2 separate regions of the Homo sapiens genome follow, and region 1 is linked to region 2. Evidence: promoter capture Hi-C in human tissues and cell types (Jung and others, 2019). All regions are on one chromosome and are shown on one strand. The core of a region is centred on a gene start or on the middle of the fragment in contact, and the rest is flanking DNA. Distances in the headings are between cores, read along the strand shown.

Region 1 (3,481 bases), core at 628-3,127, 62 kb after region 2:
ACTTGATAGATTTTTCAGACTCGAATATTTTTCCTTTAAACTCTGCAAAAGTTGCATCATATTTGCTGGAATTTAATATTAATGAGAAAGGACCTGAAGCCAACCTAATTTTTGTTGCTTTGTAGGTAAGCCATTTCCTCCCATCCCTGCCTGGATACATGTAAGACACCTCACCCAACCAATCTAAAAAAACTTAAAACTTACCAGAGTATGTGTATGTAGAAAACTCTATTGATTAATTTTGATTGCTTCTTATGAAGTCCTTTCAAACCCGAACATGTCTTTTTTGACTCAGAAACATTTTTTTTCTTCTTTAATTGTTTCTCCTCAATTTGCACTTTTCTCCTACCATATTTTTTGTATACCTAAATGGGATCTTCTGCATTTGTTCTTTACATCTTTGTTTTTCAATGGTTCACCACCTTCTCTCTTTTCTTTGATTTTGGGAGACGTTTTTGAACTTTTGCCCTCCTGCTTTGGTTTTCCATGATATTTAGTGCCCCTTTGCCGTTTGAATTTTGTTGGTGATATTCTTTGTTTGCAGTCTTTAAAACTGCATGATGTCATTTTAAAAGAAATATTTATTTAAGATTCTCAGAATCCAAATGAAATGTTCTCTCTATTCCCTAGTAATTTTATTTAATATGAAGTTCTCTGATTTCAGAAGCCTGTCCTTCCCAGTATTGGATGTTGAGCCTGAATCGCTCAAGAACTATTTGTGGACCTTTTAAATTTTTAGGTCTAGACAAGGAGGGGCTGAATAGGTTTGGATATACAGCAGTTCTTCTTTGCCTGTCTGCATTCCTGAAGCCTGACAAGGGTAGGCAGAAGGCTCGAGAAAATGATGGTCAGGGTCTTGGAATTCTCTGCTCAGGCTTCTTTCCTTTCCCATGTTTCATGTGATCTGAGAGCTAGCTGGGGCAGTGGCCTCATTTGCTGACCCTCAGAGTTCCATGCCACCCGGCTCATATGTCCTCGGGCGTGCTCCAGTGTGCTGGCACTCCCTTCACGGTGCATGGACCAGGAAACCTAATCCAAACAAGTCTAGGCAATAAAGGGAATGAGCACTCAGTTCACTGAGATAAGCTGAACGCTACAGGACTTTTTCCTCATAGCCTAATGAGGTTGTCAAGGACCAAGTTTCTTTTAGTCTTTGTTCTCTGCTTTCCAGATGTCTTCACCCCAAGCCAGACCTCCCTTAAGGAGACAAAAAATTTGCAGCAGTTCCCACAGTTCACGTCTGCACAGCACATGACCCAGTAGGAGATGGGACTGACTGGGTCAGACTGCAATACCTGAACTCCTTGTTATTGAAGAAGCATGAGGTCTCACTAATTGGCTTATACTCATATTGGCATTGCCGCTGCCTCCAGGGCTGAGGTGGCGTTAATTCACTATTTCCTGCTCCGCCACACAGCTGCTACCCAGGTGAAAGGGTTAAATGGCTAAGGGATAGTCATCCGTAATATATTCAGGTTTTTAATGCCTCTTCTAAGTGTGTTCTCAGAATTAGCCAAGTGCGCAAGTGGTAGAGATACACAGGGATAGATTTATTTACTTTTGTGAATCTACTATATTAATCATGTAGTTTGTTTAAATAGTGTGATTCAGTTTTGAGAGCAAAGTTGGGAAAACCTCTTACCCGTTATTTTTATTTTACTTTGATACTCTGTTAAGTCAAACTCAATGAGTGGGGAGCAGGGAGGCTAATGGGCATTTATAGAATGACATTATACTTTAATATTAAAATAGGAATATTTAGATTTACTTATATATGTAAGCAATTTTTTTTAGCATGTACTACTTGCCAGGTACAGTTGACCCTTGAACAATGTGGGGGTTAGGGGCACCAACCCGCCCCCACCACACAGTTAAACATCTGTGTACGACTTCTGACTCCCCCAAAACTTAACTCCTAATAGCACATTGTTGACTGGAGGCCTTACTGATAACATAACCAGCCTACTAACATGTATTTTGTATTATATATATTATTTATTATATTTTTACAATAAAGTAAGCTAGATAAAACAAAATGTTTCTGAGAAAATCATAAGGAAGAGAAAATAGATTTACTATTCGTTAAGTAAAAGTGGATGATCATAAAGGTCTGCATCCTTGTCATCTTCACATTGCGTGGACTGAGGGGGAGAAGTTGGTCTTGCTGTCTTGTCTCAGGGGTGGCAGAGGTGAAGAAAACCCATGTATAAGTGGACCCACTCACTTCAAACCTGTGCTGTTCAAGGGTCAACTGTGTTTCATTACTGAGCGTGAGAGTGCAATGTGTACCAGCCAAAGAAATGTTCCTGCTCTTAAAGAGTTTAAGTCATAGAAGAGATCAGTCAAGTCAATAGGTTTGTAGTGTGAAATTGTTATACAAGATGCCCTGGGTGCTACGGAAGCACATAGAGCAGGCACCAAATCTAGGCCTGGGGAAGCAGAAAAAGCTTATTTATTAGAGGAGAATACTGAGTAATACTTCAAGGGCAGGTCGGCATGGGCCAGGTAAAGAGATGCTGAAGGAGCCTCCAGACAAGGAGAGCTCATGTGGGAAGGCCCAGCAATGAGAGAGGCAGTAAAGCAAGGTTCTAGAGTTAAACTATCTGGTTTGGAATCCTGGCTCTTCCACTTATCAGCTGTGTGCACAAAGTATTTCGACAGGGATAATAAAAATGGCAGCTACCCCGTGAAGTTGTTATGAAGATTGAGCAAGTTAACATTTGTAAAACACTTCAAACAGGGCTTTGTTTGTTACATAAAAAATAAAATTAAACCTACATATAAAACAAAACAAATCTTTCCATACTGCCTCAATCAACAACGAGTAAGAAAGAATCTACTCTTTAGTGTCTCCCATTGGAGGCCGCCATGTTTACTCCCTGACCTCCGCAGCAGTGGATCCAGCTTCCTAAATGAGCTTGTCTGCTTCCCCTGCCCTGCCTGCATTGAGCTTCCAGCTGGCTCAAGAGACATGCTCACACACAAGCTCAGAAAAGAACCACGAACATTGAGAGACAGCAGCTCAGTCAGTGAGTCCATGGGAAGAGCACCAACATGGAATCCAGGAGAAGTGGTCATGTGTACATCTAAGATAAAAGCCAGGCAAGGCAGCCATCAGTGACTTGGGCAGGTCGTCACAGAGACTGACAGGAAGTTCTTGTTGCCACTTCCATATTTTGTGAAAAGGCAAGACTCCAGCTCTGGGAAGCCTGACCAGCACCAAGCCAGGCCTGCATCCAAGAAAATCACAATACAAAGCAGGTTATCAAAGGACTAATTCCCTCCCTCCCTCCCTCCCTCTCTCCCTCCCTCCCTCTCTCTCTCTTTCTTTCTCTTCCTTCCTTCCTCCCTTTCTGCCTTCCTTCCTTCTTTCTTCTTCTTTCTCTCTCCTTCCTTCCTTCTTTCCTTCCTTCCTCCTTCCTTCTACCTTCCTTCCTTCCTTTCTTTGTTTCTACAAAAAATTTATTTAAATGCTTAACTT
Region 2 (3,737 bases), core at 1,073-3,572:
GCTCAATACCATATGGTGAATTAACTTCAACAGAAGAAGGGAATAAAAAGAGCTCACAGAAGAAGCTGGGTCCATGCCCATATCATGCCCAGGCATCTGGCCAAAGCAATTAATCCTGTGAAAAATAATTGAAAAACCCATGGCTTTACGTAAAAAATTTAAAAATATTAATGCCAAAGTCCCTCCTCAGGAGGTTCTGGTTTAATTGCTCTGGGGTGAGGCCTGAGCACTGGCATGTTTCAAGGCAGCACAGATCATTCCGACGTACAGTCAGAATTATGAGCCGTCAGTTTAGAATAATACACTTGGCTGAAAGTCTAGTGGAATATAGTAGAAAAAATCCTGAACTTGGAGCCCGAAGACCCAAATTTGAATCTGGACCTTTTCATGATCATCAGTGTGGTTTGGGCAAGTTGCTTAACTGCTTTTATACCCACTACTTATCCATAAATCCTTACTTCATCCAGAATCTGAAACCCCCATGAGACAGTGCTCTTGAAAGTGCTCTGCAAACACTGAAATACTGTATCCATGTGAGACAAGACCTGCTGGAGACTTTTCTAGCAGAGCACCTTTCTCGTAGTTGCTTGGCTATTCAAAAATTGAATTCAATTCAACAAATAGGTATTGAATGGCTGGTAGGAAATAGACATTATGCTAGGTGCTGGCCATACAAAGATGAAGACATAGATCATGTAACTTAAGGAGTGCTGAGACTTGTAAGGGGAGGTGGACATTTAAACAAGGGGATACTACAAGGACAATAAGAGATGCAGCTTCAAGGGACAGAAACAGAACAAAGGACAAAGGAGGGGATGCTCACTCTGGAATATGGTGGTCAGGAGAGAGAAAGAGATATTTGTGCCAGCTTGAACAATCAGGTCTTCTAGGTGGAAAATAAAGAAGAAGGTTGCTCCAGGTTGAGGGATGAGCATATGCAAAGATACAGAATTGTTACTCAGCCAAGTAGTTTGATATGGGCTGGGGCACTGAATGGTAGGGTGGGATTCAGACCAGATCATTGACAGATAAATGAGATTATCATTCAATGTAGATTGACATAAATCACTTTTTTTTGGAGAAAGAAAAATGATGTTTAATGGCAGGTTTAAAATTACTATGGCTTTAAGAAGAACAGAATTATTGCACTCACTTTTTAAGGACCTGGTTATCTCTCTGAACCACAGGTAATCGGAGTTCAAAGAGTTAACATAGTCTGAAGCCTCTCATTGGTCTCAGGTCCAGAAAAGTTGCTAGGTTACTTTGCAGAAGAGAAACAAATAAAAACACTTTCCCAAGTGAAAAGAAAATTAATAGTAAAAGATGTGTTTAGGGACTTACACATCTGCAGAGCATTGTGTGTGTGTGTGTGTGTGTGTGTGTGTGTAACAGCATTAACACTTAACTAATAAAAATAACTAGGGTGGTTGGGTTTTCAGACTTGCAGGATAGAACTTGTATGAAAGGTCTGGTAAGGAGTGTCAAGTATAATGAGGAATAAGAAAGGTTAAAGAGTTTAAAACCAATTAGAATTTGAAGTTCTTGATTTCAGAACTCTAAAATCCTTTTTTTTTTTTTAAGTATGATATCTCTTTAAGAGCCATTTGGTGTACTTCATAGCCTGATTCATGCCACCAGCTGCCTCTGATTTCAATGAGAAATGCAGAAAATTTATAGGGAACTGTAAAATGGGGACAGATTTTTAGTTTTCTAAATTGAGGTTTAACTGGCAAACTTGTAAAGGTTGAAGAAACCACAGAGCCAAGCTATGGGAAGCTGGTTTCTTTTCTGGTCAGAAGGAATGAACACACAAACACATATCTAACTCACAAAGTGCTGGAAGAGAGAAAGCAATGCTCTTTCCAGAGGAGGAACACGGAAAAATCAGCCTTGTGGGTGAACAGGAGGAGAGTCACATTCGCCAGCAGGCAGCACCCTGTGCAGGCAGTGGGAGAAATCTGAGCTTCAGCAGCGTCCGGAGCAGGATTTGCACGAAGTCTCCCGTTTCAAGTTTTATGTCTCCTGGAGTCCTGGGGAAGGCACCCAGCCCACCCACAGCTCCCTTCTCAGAGCCCTAAGAATTGATGAGAAAGCCCCTCACTACCACATGCAGGACACGCAGGTGAGTCTGTCAGTGACAAGGTCAGACCTTCCCTGCTATTTGACACTGGTCCCCAAAAGGGAACCGTGCCCTCTCCTCCCCTGGCACGTACCTCATTTTCCTGCCTTGGGTGCTCCCGGCTGCCCGGCCTTGGTCCTCCCAGCTTGACTTGCCTGTGAGCTCGTGCCCGGTGTGGTGTCCGTGATGCCTTATCTTTGTTCTGAGGTCCCTGTGTGTCTCTGGAATTGGCTGGCATTCTCCATTCAGGTCACGCCTTCCCCTGCCTGCAACAGATCCCCTCTCCCCCTCTCTCCCTCTGGCTTTTCCTCTCTCCTCTCTCTCTCCTTTGACTTGCTCTTGCACTCCCAGGAACCTGACAACAAAATCTGTCTTCCTACCGAAAAGATCTGCTCCTTCCCTTCCCTCCTTTATCCTGTGTGGCTGACTTCAGCCCTTGAGAGAAAATAACTGAGGGGCTCAAGCAGGTATTTGTATCACTCTGTGTGTGTGTGTGTGTGTGTGTGTGTGTGTGTAGAGAGAGAGAGAGAGAGAGAGTGAAAGGGGACAAAGTCTAATTTCTCTTTAGTCTTTTTTGCCAGATGACTATAATTTTCTGCTTTTCTTCAGGACACCCATGAAAGAAAAGCAATTAAATAGAAACAACCAACTAAGAAGGCAATTCTAGCACCTACACTAGAAGAAAAAAAAAAGGTCTAAATCCCAGAGCGTCTGTCTGCAAATAACTACAGGTTTCCTTGTGAGCAGAGCCCCAAATAACTACAGGTTTTCTCGTGATCAGAGTCACACACAACGACAGGTTTTCCTGTGAACAGAGCCACGGGCCCGGAACTGGGGAAGCACCAAGTCCTGAAGTTGGCTGGTTGTTCCTCCCCATGAGCAATACCTGTGGCACTGTTTACTTGCTCGGAGTGTGTGCGGCTCTACTCCAGCCCAGAAAGGGCCCATCGCAGCAAGAAATCTCACCTCCCCAGGGGTGTAGAAAGACCTGGGCCTGTATATATGTCTATACCCATGGCTTCCGGAGAAATCAACACTAGATCTAAGATGAGCTGAATAATAAGAAAATTACCCCCTCCACAACAACAACAACCAACACTGAATAGGGAGAGGTGTATCTGGGTGTAAAAGTTAAGTTTGACTGTGCACCTTTTCTGTGTTAGACACAGTACTAGTCATTAACATCATCTCAAGTTACTTTTGCAAACTGGTGAAAGTGCTGCTGTTATACTCATTTTACAAGTGAGGACACTAAGGCTCAGAGAGAATATGCCACTTGCCAAGATCATCCAGTTATTTATGACTCCCCACTGCCACTAGCACTAGAAGCTAACAGCTATTGAGTGCTACGTGTCAGGCACTGCTCTAAGCACTTAATATATGAATTCTTTTCAGTCATCTTTATATGTTGTATACATGGCTGGCAATATTCTCATTTTTCAGAGGAAATTGCCCAGAGAGGTTAAGTAACTTTCCCAAGTTCACACAGCTAGAAAGTAATAGAGGCAGAATTTGAAGTGTTAGCCACTGTATTACACTGCTACTCATTAACATTTTATAATGCATATGGAATTTCAAATGCACACACACAGACGGCATTCATAGAGAAACTCAATCT

The links. Contacts are between HindIII fragments. The study calls those that stand out against the background at their distance.
Region 1: a fragment that was not itself captured here is called in contact with the fragment with the promoter of MASP1 in region 2 in 2 of the 25 tissues and cell types used here (ovary and psoas muscle).

What each region holds. Positions count from the first base shown.
Region 1 is chr3:187,351,851-187,355,331 of GRCh38, forward strand. No RefSeq gene overlaps it. Among named protein-coding and RNA genes, the nearest start is that of RTP4, 15 kb to the right of the region's middle. The HindIII fragment of the contact is 7,930 bases long and covers 1-3,481 here.
Region 2 is chr3:187,289,415-187,293,151 of GRCh38, forward strand. It overlaps MASP1 (MBL associated serine protease 1), which reads right to left and starts at 2,323. Exons shown (of 11, transcript NM_139125.4): 1 at 2,214-2,323. The coding sequence starts at 2,218. LOC101929130 (a long non-coding RNA gene) reads left to right here and starts at 1,858. Exons shown (of 2, transcript NR_135551.1): 1 at 1,858-2,122. The HindIII fragment of the contact is 8,732 bases long and covers 1-3,737 here.